Regions from separate parts of the Homo sapiens genome. Here region 1 is linked to region 2. The links are contacts of gene promoters, found by promoter capture Hi-C in human tissues and cell types (Jung and others, 2019). All regions are on one chromosome and are shown on one strand. The core of a region is centred on a gene start or on the middle of the fragment in contact, and the rest is flanking DNA. Distances in the headings are between cores, read along the strand shown. Region 1 overlaps LINC00996 (long intergenic non-protein coding RNA 996). Region 2 holds the start of ATP6V0E2 (ATPase H+ transporting V0 subunit e2).

What was found. Contacts are between HindIII fragments. The study calls those that stand out against the background at their distance.
Region 1: a contact is called between a fragment that was not itself captured here and the fragment with the promoter of ATP6V0E2 in region 2, in 1 of the 25 tissues and cell types used here (mesenchymal stem cells).

Annotation. Positions count from the first base shown.
Region 1 is chr7:150,443,088-150,445,954 of GRCh38, reverse strand. LINC00996 (long intergenic non-protein coding RNA 996) reads right to left here. Exons shown (of 4, transcript NR_034033.1): 2 at 2,795-2,867. Among named protein-coding and RNA genes, the nearest start is that of GIMAP8, 6.1 kb to the left of the region's middle. The HindIII fragment of the contact is 6,263 bases long and covers 1-2,867 here.
Region 2 is chr7:149,872,572-149,875,530 of GRCh38, reverse strand. ATP6V0E2 (ATPase H+ transporting V0 subunit e2) reads right to left here and starts at 1,562. Exons shown (of 4, transcript NM_145230.4): 1 at 1,362-1,562. The coding sequence starts at 1,465. ATP6V0E2-AS1 (ATP6V0E2 antisense RNA 1) reads left to right here and starts at 1,669. Exons shown (of 4, transcript NR_027040.1): 1 at 1,669-2,307. RefSeq lists silencers at 1,126-1,305, 1,716-1,795, 1,826-2,035 and enhancers at 1,326-1,465, 795-1,763. The HindIII fragment of the contact is 13,669 bases long and covers 1-2,959 here.

The sequences.
Region 1 (2,867 bases), core at 222-2,721, 570 kb before region 2:
GGGAAACATAGAGAGACTCCATCTTTGCAAAAAAAGTTTTAAAATTAGCTGAGCTTGGTGATATGCACCTGTGGTCCCAGCTACCTGGGAGGCTGAGATGGGAGGATCACTTGAACCCAGGAGGTATAGGCTGTAGTGAGCTATGATTGCACCACTGCACTCCAGACTGGGTAACAGAGCAAGACCTTGTCTCAAAAAATGTATGTAAAAATACAAAATAAAATAAAATTTTTAAAAAGTGGGAGTTTCTGGAATGACTTGAGCTCCACTCCAAATTGTTCCTCTGTAATATTCAAGATGCATTTCCACACCATTGCACCAAACAAAAGCTTTCTGAAGGTGGGGACTATGTCTGTCTTGCTTATGACTCTATTCCAGCACCAAAACGGGGCCTGGCACACCAGGGATGGAAGAATGAGTGAGTGAGGAATGAAAAAAACACCACTCCTTTATTCCAGGGAGTGGATGGAGCAGGTGTGGCCATTGCCCTCACCCTCTCCCCTCCCCACCCACTCAGGTCTGGAGGGAAGCCTCAATCCTCATGGCTTAAGCCCCTCTTCTGATGTGGACATTCACGAGTCCTGAGCCAGCTCCTGACACTGGAGACACAGTGAGCAGAAGCAAAGTCCCCCAGTCTCTGACTCTGCCTTCCCCCGGGCCTGGCACTAGACCAGCCTGCAGGAGCTCCAGGCCCAGGCTGGCCCCACCCCAGAGCTGCATTCAGACATCCCAGGGGCACAAACCCTCCCCCAGAGCCACAGCTTCCTGGGCTCTGGCCCCATGCCCACAGCTGCCCCCCATGTGGCCTTCCCGCAGCTGTGACGGGGCCCCTGACACCTTGCCCTGGCCGCTGGGCTCCCTGGGGACTCATTCTGCAGGCAGAGAAATGGACACCTGGCTTTCCACTTCAACCTCCCAAGCTTTCTATTTCTCCTCGTAGGTCTTCTGGTCAGCCTGGTTCCCTGGTCCTATAGTGGGAAATGACACAAGGCCTGTGAGGCTGCAGCTGACTGTGGTGGAGATTGTCACACAGGGGCTTCCAGGAGCATTCCAGGTGAAGGTCAGAGACCCCGGCCAGCATGTCCTGACTGCAGGGAGCAGCACCTGTGCTCAGAAGGACTTGGTGGCCCAGGTAAAGTTCTCATTCAGCATGCAGCCCTGGCCTCCTGCAGGTCCTCAGGCATCTGGCCCCTAACCCAATAGAATGGAGACTTCAGCCAGAACTTGGGACAGCGGAAACTGTCACCCATAGTCCCCATTCATGCAGGGTAATTAATTGGCTGGCTGCAGCCAACAGAGACATTCAAGAGAGTTCCATAACCTCGAAAGGAGCGTCAGGGCCAAGAAGTCTGGGGAGCAGCAGAGCCTGAGATAAGGCAGTGTCCTAACTGCATCTGAATCCCAGCCCCGTCAATCACGCCCTGTGTGAACTTGCACAAGCTCATGAACCGTGCTGCCTCCCAGTTTTGTCATCTGTGTGATGGGGATACAACTGTTAGCTCATGGCACTGGAGGGGGACCGGAGGACCCAATGTCTGTCAAGCACTAACGCTTTGCCCAGGGTCCCCCATGTGGTGGTGGGTGCCACAGCATCAGTATCTGGGTAGGGGCCTGCGGGAAGCGGGACTGGGGAATGACAGCCGGTGCAGCCGGCTCTGGGCAGGGAGACTGAAGGGCAGAGTCAAGGCCGACTCCACACATGGGGCTGTGCCCCGTGGGGGGAGTGGGGATCTGGAGGAAGAGGCCTAAGAAAGAAGAGGCCACCTGAACCATGAGACCCCAAAGGGCCCCCCTTGCCTCTGGCCAGGGAAACAGAGCCTGTGGCTCCAGCCTTGGGGACAAAGGCCCGTTCCTTGGCTCACTTTCCGGGGCTCCCTTCTCTGAGAGCCTAACCAGGGTCCCTCTGGAGTCTAGGTTCCTGCCACAACAGCCCAAGTAGATTCCGCTCTGCCTCTGAATTCCATAGTCACTCCCCACAACCCACACAGGAAATTCTAGCCGTTTCTCAGCTGAGGCCCCTTCAGGAGCTCTGCTTTCTCCATGACAGCCTCACACCCACGGGGCACAGGTGGTGGTGTTATTGTTATCATTGTGACCCCCCGGGTGTTTTCTCTTGAACATAATTTCTACAGGGGCCAGAGAAGGGTAGACGTCATGAGACGCTGAGGGTGGCCCTGGGGTTGCTACCAGCACGGATGCCAAGGACCTAGGACAAGCCTGGGACTGGGACCAGCCAGGTCTAGATGGAGCCTGGGCCATTCTCCAGGGGAACATTGTCCCGTCCTCTGGTTGTACCCACTTGCCCCTGGAAGCAGGGGCGTCCTCTTCTCTCTCTTCCATCCCGTCTCCTGTGGACATTCCCCCACATATTCTAGCACAGGCTATGCGTTACCCTCAACCCCTTCCAACACCTTCAGGTTCCTGCCAACACCCACAGATGATCCAGTGGCGACCAGAGCAAGAGTCGGGGCTCACTGCCATAGGGATCAAGAGATCGGGGGGCTCAAGACCAGAAAGTGTTCTCCAGTGGGAGCTTCCATCACTCCTGAGAAGATGACATGGGCTGAACACAGAGATTCCAGGGCAGAGACTGATCACGCAGCCACCCTGTGTCTCCTTCAGCACCCGTGATGACGCCACACTTCAGAAAGCAAAGGGCCCTCAGCCCCTGGCTCTCCCCAGCTGCTCTCACCTCTTCGCCCCCTCGCTGGAAATGCTCCCCTCAACCCAGGGCGGAAGTGCAGGCTGATCAGGGGAGGGTCCCCGGAACTGCTGCCAAAAATACCGTCCTTACCCATCTAGGCGGACTCCTCCCAGCTTCCCTGTGCTCTCTGCGCTGAGAAAAGCTCGCAGCTGAAGCGAATGAA
Region 2 (2,959 bases), core at 313-2,812:
GAGCAAGAAGAGCTCCTGGTGTGAGCTCTTTTCCATTGGCCTTCCTGATGCCTCCTGGACACAGGAGGCTGAGTTCTACTCAGGGTAAGAATAGCAAGGCAGAAAATAAAAACTGAAAGTGTCACCTCACAGAGAGGCCAACCTTGACCACATCCAAGTTGCCTTAAGAATCCTTCCCTTCATTTCCCTTCTCTACCACCCAATATTGCTCCATCTTAATGCAGACGTGTTGTGGAAAGGCACTGCACAGAGCTGCATTTGTGGCAACCCAACAGGGAGTGGTCTGTAGAATTCAAAATTCATGGAGCAAGGGGAAGGAAAACAATAGGCTAGAAGACAGGGCAAGAAGCAGGCAGACTGTGAGCCAGTTCTGAGGCCCAGTGAGTTGTTACAAAGAGAACAGGGACTAGCCACTTTGCGTGTACTCAGAGAAGACCAGAGACAGATGCTTCAAGTGCAGCAAAAGAAATTTCAGTCAAACTGAAGCAAGAACTCACCAAGAATAGCAGGAGACGCAAGACACGAAAATGGTTTACAAAGTGAAGCTGTGGGATCCCAAACCCTGCCTGTCTTTAAGAACAAAGGCAGCACTCACATGTCCAAACGGCCTTTGGGCAAAGCTAACTCTAATCCAAACGAGGCCCTTGATCTTTGATCTAAAGCACTGCAAGCTGGTGCTGGACACAGGAGCACGCGATCCCTTTTTCAACATTACTAAGCAGGTTGTGCCAGTCCTGGCTGGGCACTGAGTAGACAATGGTGAACTGGACAAACTCCAGCCCCTGGGAACATGCAGTCAAGGGAAGGGTGCTTTGTAACTGAAGATAATATGAAGCAGAAACTGGTGAATGGCGCAGCAATCTGCTAGAGGACCTTCGAAAAATAACGCCAGCTAAACTTATCCCATACCTACAAAGTGTCACGCACTGGTAGGTGTTTTAAATGCGTTACCGCAGGTCATCCTCACAGCAGCCTTTTAAGGCAGGAGTCGACATTATCTCCATTTTACCCATGAAGAAACTGAGACTTGATATTGGCTCTAGGTCACACAGCTAGCAAGGAGTGGAGAAACTGCGTCAGTGCCCACTTGTGCCCTTTACTGGCTGCAGGAGGGGTGACAGACATCTCCAATGTCACTCTCCTCTTTACCTTCTGGATATGCCCTCTCGCCCCACCTCCTGCCTGTTCCCGGCTGTCAGAGACCCAGGTGCAGAGAGACCTCAGAGGTGGCGTCCGGGGTCCTGGCGTCCCTCCTGCGGACGCTCGCTGCAGAGCAGGAAGCCGCCGCCCCGGGGCGGAGGGGCGAGCCGGGCCAGGGGGCCGGGGTGGAGAGGTCTGCAGGGCCTGCGCGCTTTCCTTACCCGCGGTTGGGTCCCTTCGGCACGAACCAGGGCCCGGCGATGCCGACGAGGCCCCAGAACGTGGTGAAGATGATGACCGGGAGGGCGAATGAGTGCGCCGTCATGGCCGGGCGCAGGATGCCCAGGCAGGATGCAGGGCCGAGCAGCGGGCGCTGCAGGTGCGCGGGTCCCCAGCCGGGCAGCGCGCTGAGCATGCGCAACAGGAGTCGAGCACCCGAAGCGATCAGCCGGGCCGGGCCGCGCACGCGCATCTCCTGATCCAGCCCGCCGCGCTGTCACTCAGGACCTGCCTAGGAGCCCACTCGCTGATTGGCTGAGCAGGGCCGCGGACAGAGAGAAATGCCGAGGAATAGGGGCGCGGCCGCCCGGTTTCGGCGATGGGTTATAGGGTCCGCGTCAGCCCCGCGCCCGCACAGCCAACGTCACGCCGCATTCTTATTTCCAAAGACCCCTGGAGCTTGGGGTCCCACCCCAGCGGTCTTTCGGGGCGTCCCCTGCCCTTCACGCGCCGCGCCGGCTCGGCCCGAAGCGCCCTGCGGACCCGCAGCCTGGGCCGCCCCGAACCTGACGGCCCCGCGGGGGTCGGACGCGGGAGGAACGGCCTCGCTTTCAGAGACGCAGCGGGAGGGCGGTCCCCGCTGTCCCTCTGGCCGGGTCCTCAGCACGCGTTCTCCTCACTCCCAGGACTAGCGAGCGGCGGGCGCGGACCGGGGCCTGGGGTCGGAGGCGGCGCAGCCAGAAAGGCCCCAGCGGCGCTGAGACGTTTGGGGGAAGGCGGGGGCTTCGCGTTTCGATGGCGGGAAGCGGAATGAGGTTGGACCGGCCGGGCCGGCGTTCAGGGACCCGGCGGGAGGCGGAGGGCTGGCGTCCTCGCGGACATCCATCTGCAGCGAACCAGGCAGAGGCTTTGGGATTAGATCCTTGACTCCTTGCGTCAGTAGTTAAGGTTTGTTTAAATATAAAATGGGATGGCCCTTCTTACAAGGTTGCTGGAGGATTAAATGAATAGGCATGTGGAAAGCACCTAGTATAATAAGGCTCGGTAGTTTCTTCCATCAGGGCTGGAAGAGACCACGGAGCCTGCTTTCCTCCTTCGGCGTTTGGATCTCACATATCCCTTCTTCTCTGGCGATCAAAAATCCCTATCTTCTGTAGAGATCCCTTTTACAGATCAGTGGCCTCCAGGCGGTATCTCTAGCAACAAGTGCTACCCCAAGCGGCCGGCCACACATATTCCCTGGCTTCATGACATAGGGAGGCGCAGTCCCCACGTGATGCAGAAGGGAAATGTGCCTGTCCTTGCACTGACCCCGTCAGCCATGTGTGCTCCTGGCTGTTTTCTGAAATCAAGAACCAGTTACATCCGCCCTTCTCCGTTCTCTAGTTGAAACCTCCCTATCCATCCTTCCAACATTCATGTAAGTTGGAGGTGGGCGTGGGATGACACCAAACTGTTAGGTATAAAATACCATCCTAGCCTTCGAGGGGTTTCTAAAGTAGTTGAGGAGTGATATATTCTGGTAAAATCATAATGCTGGACAGCGCAGTTCTAAGAGCCCTGTGATCAAAGTAGCCAAATGCCCATTATGAGAATTCAG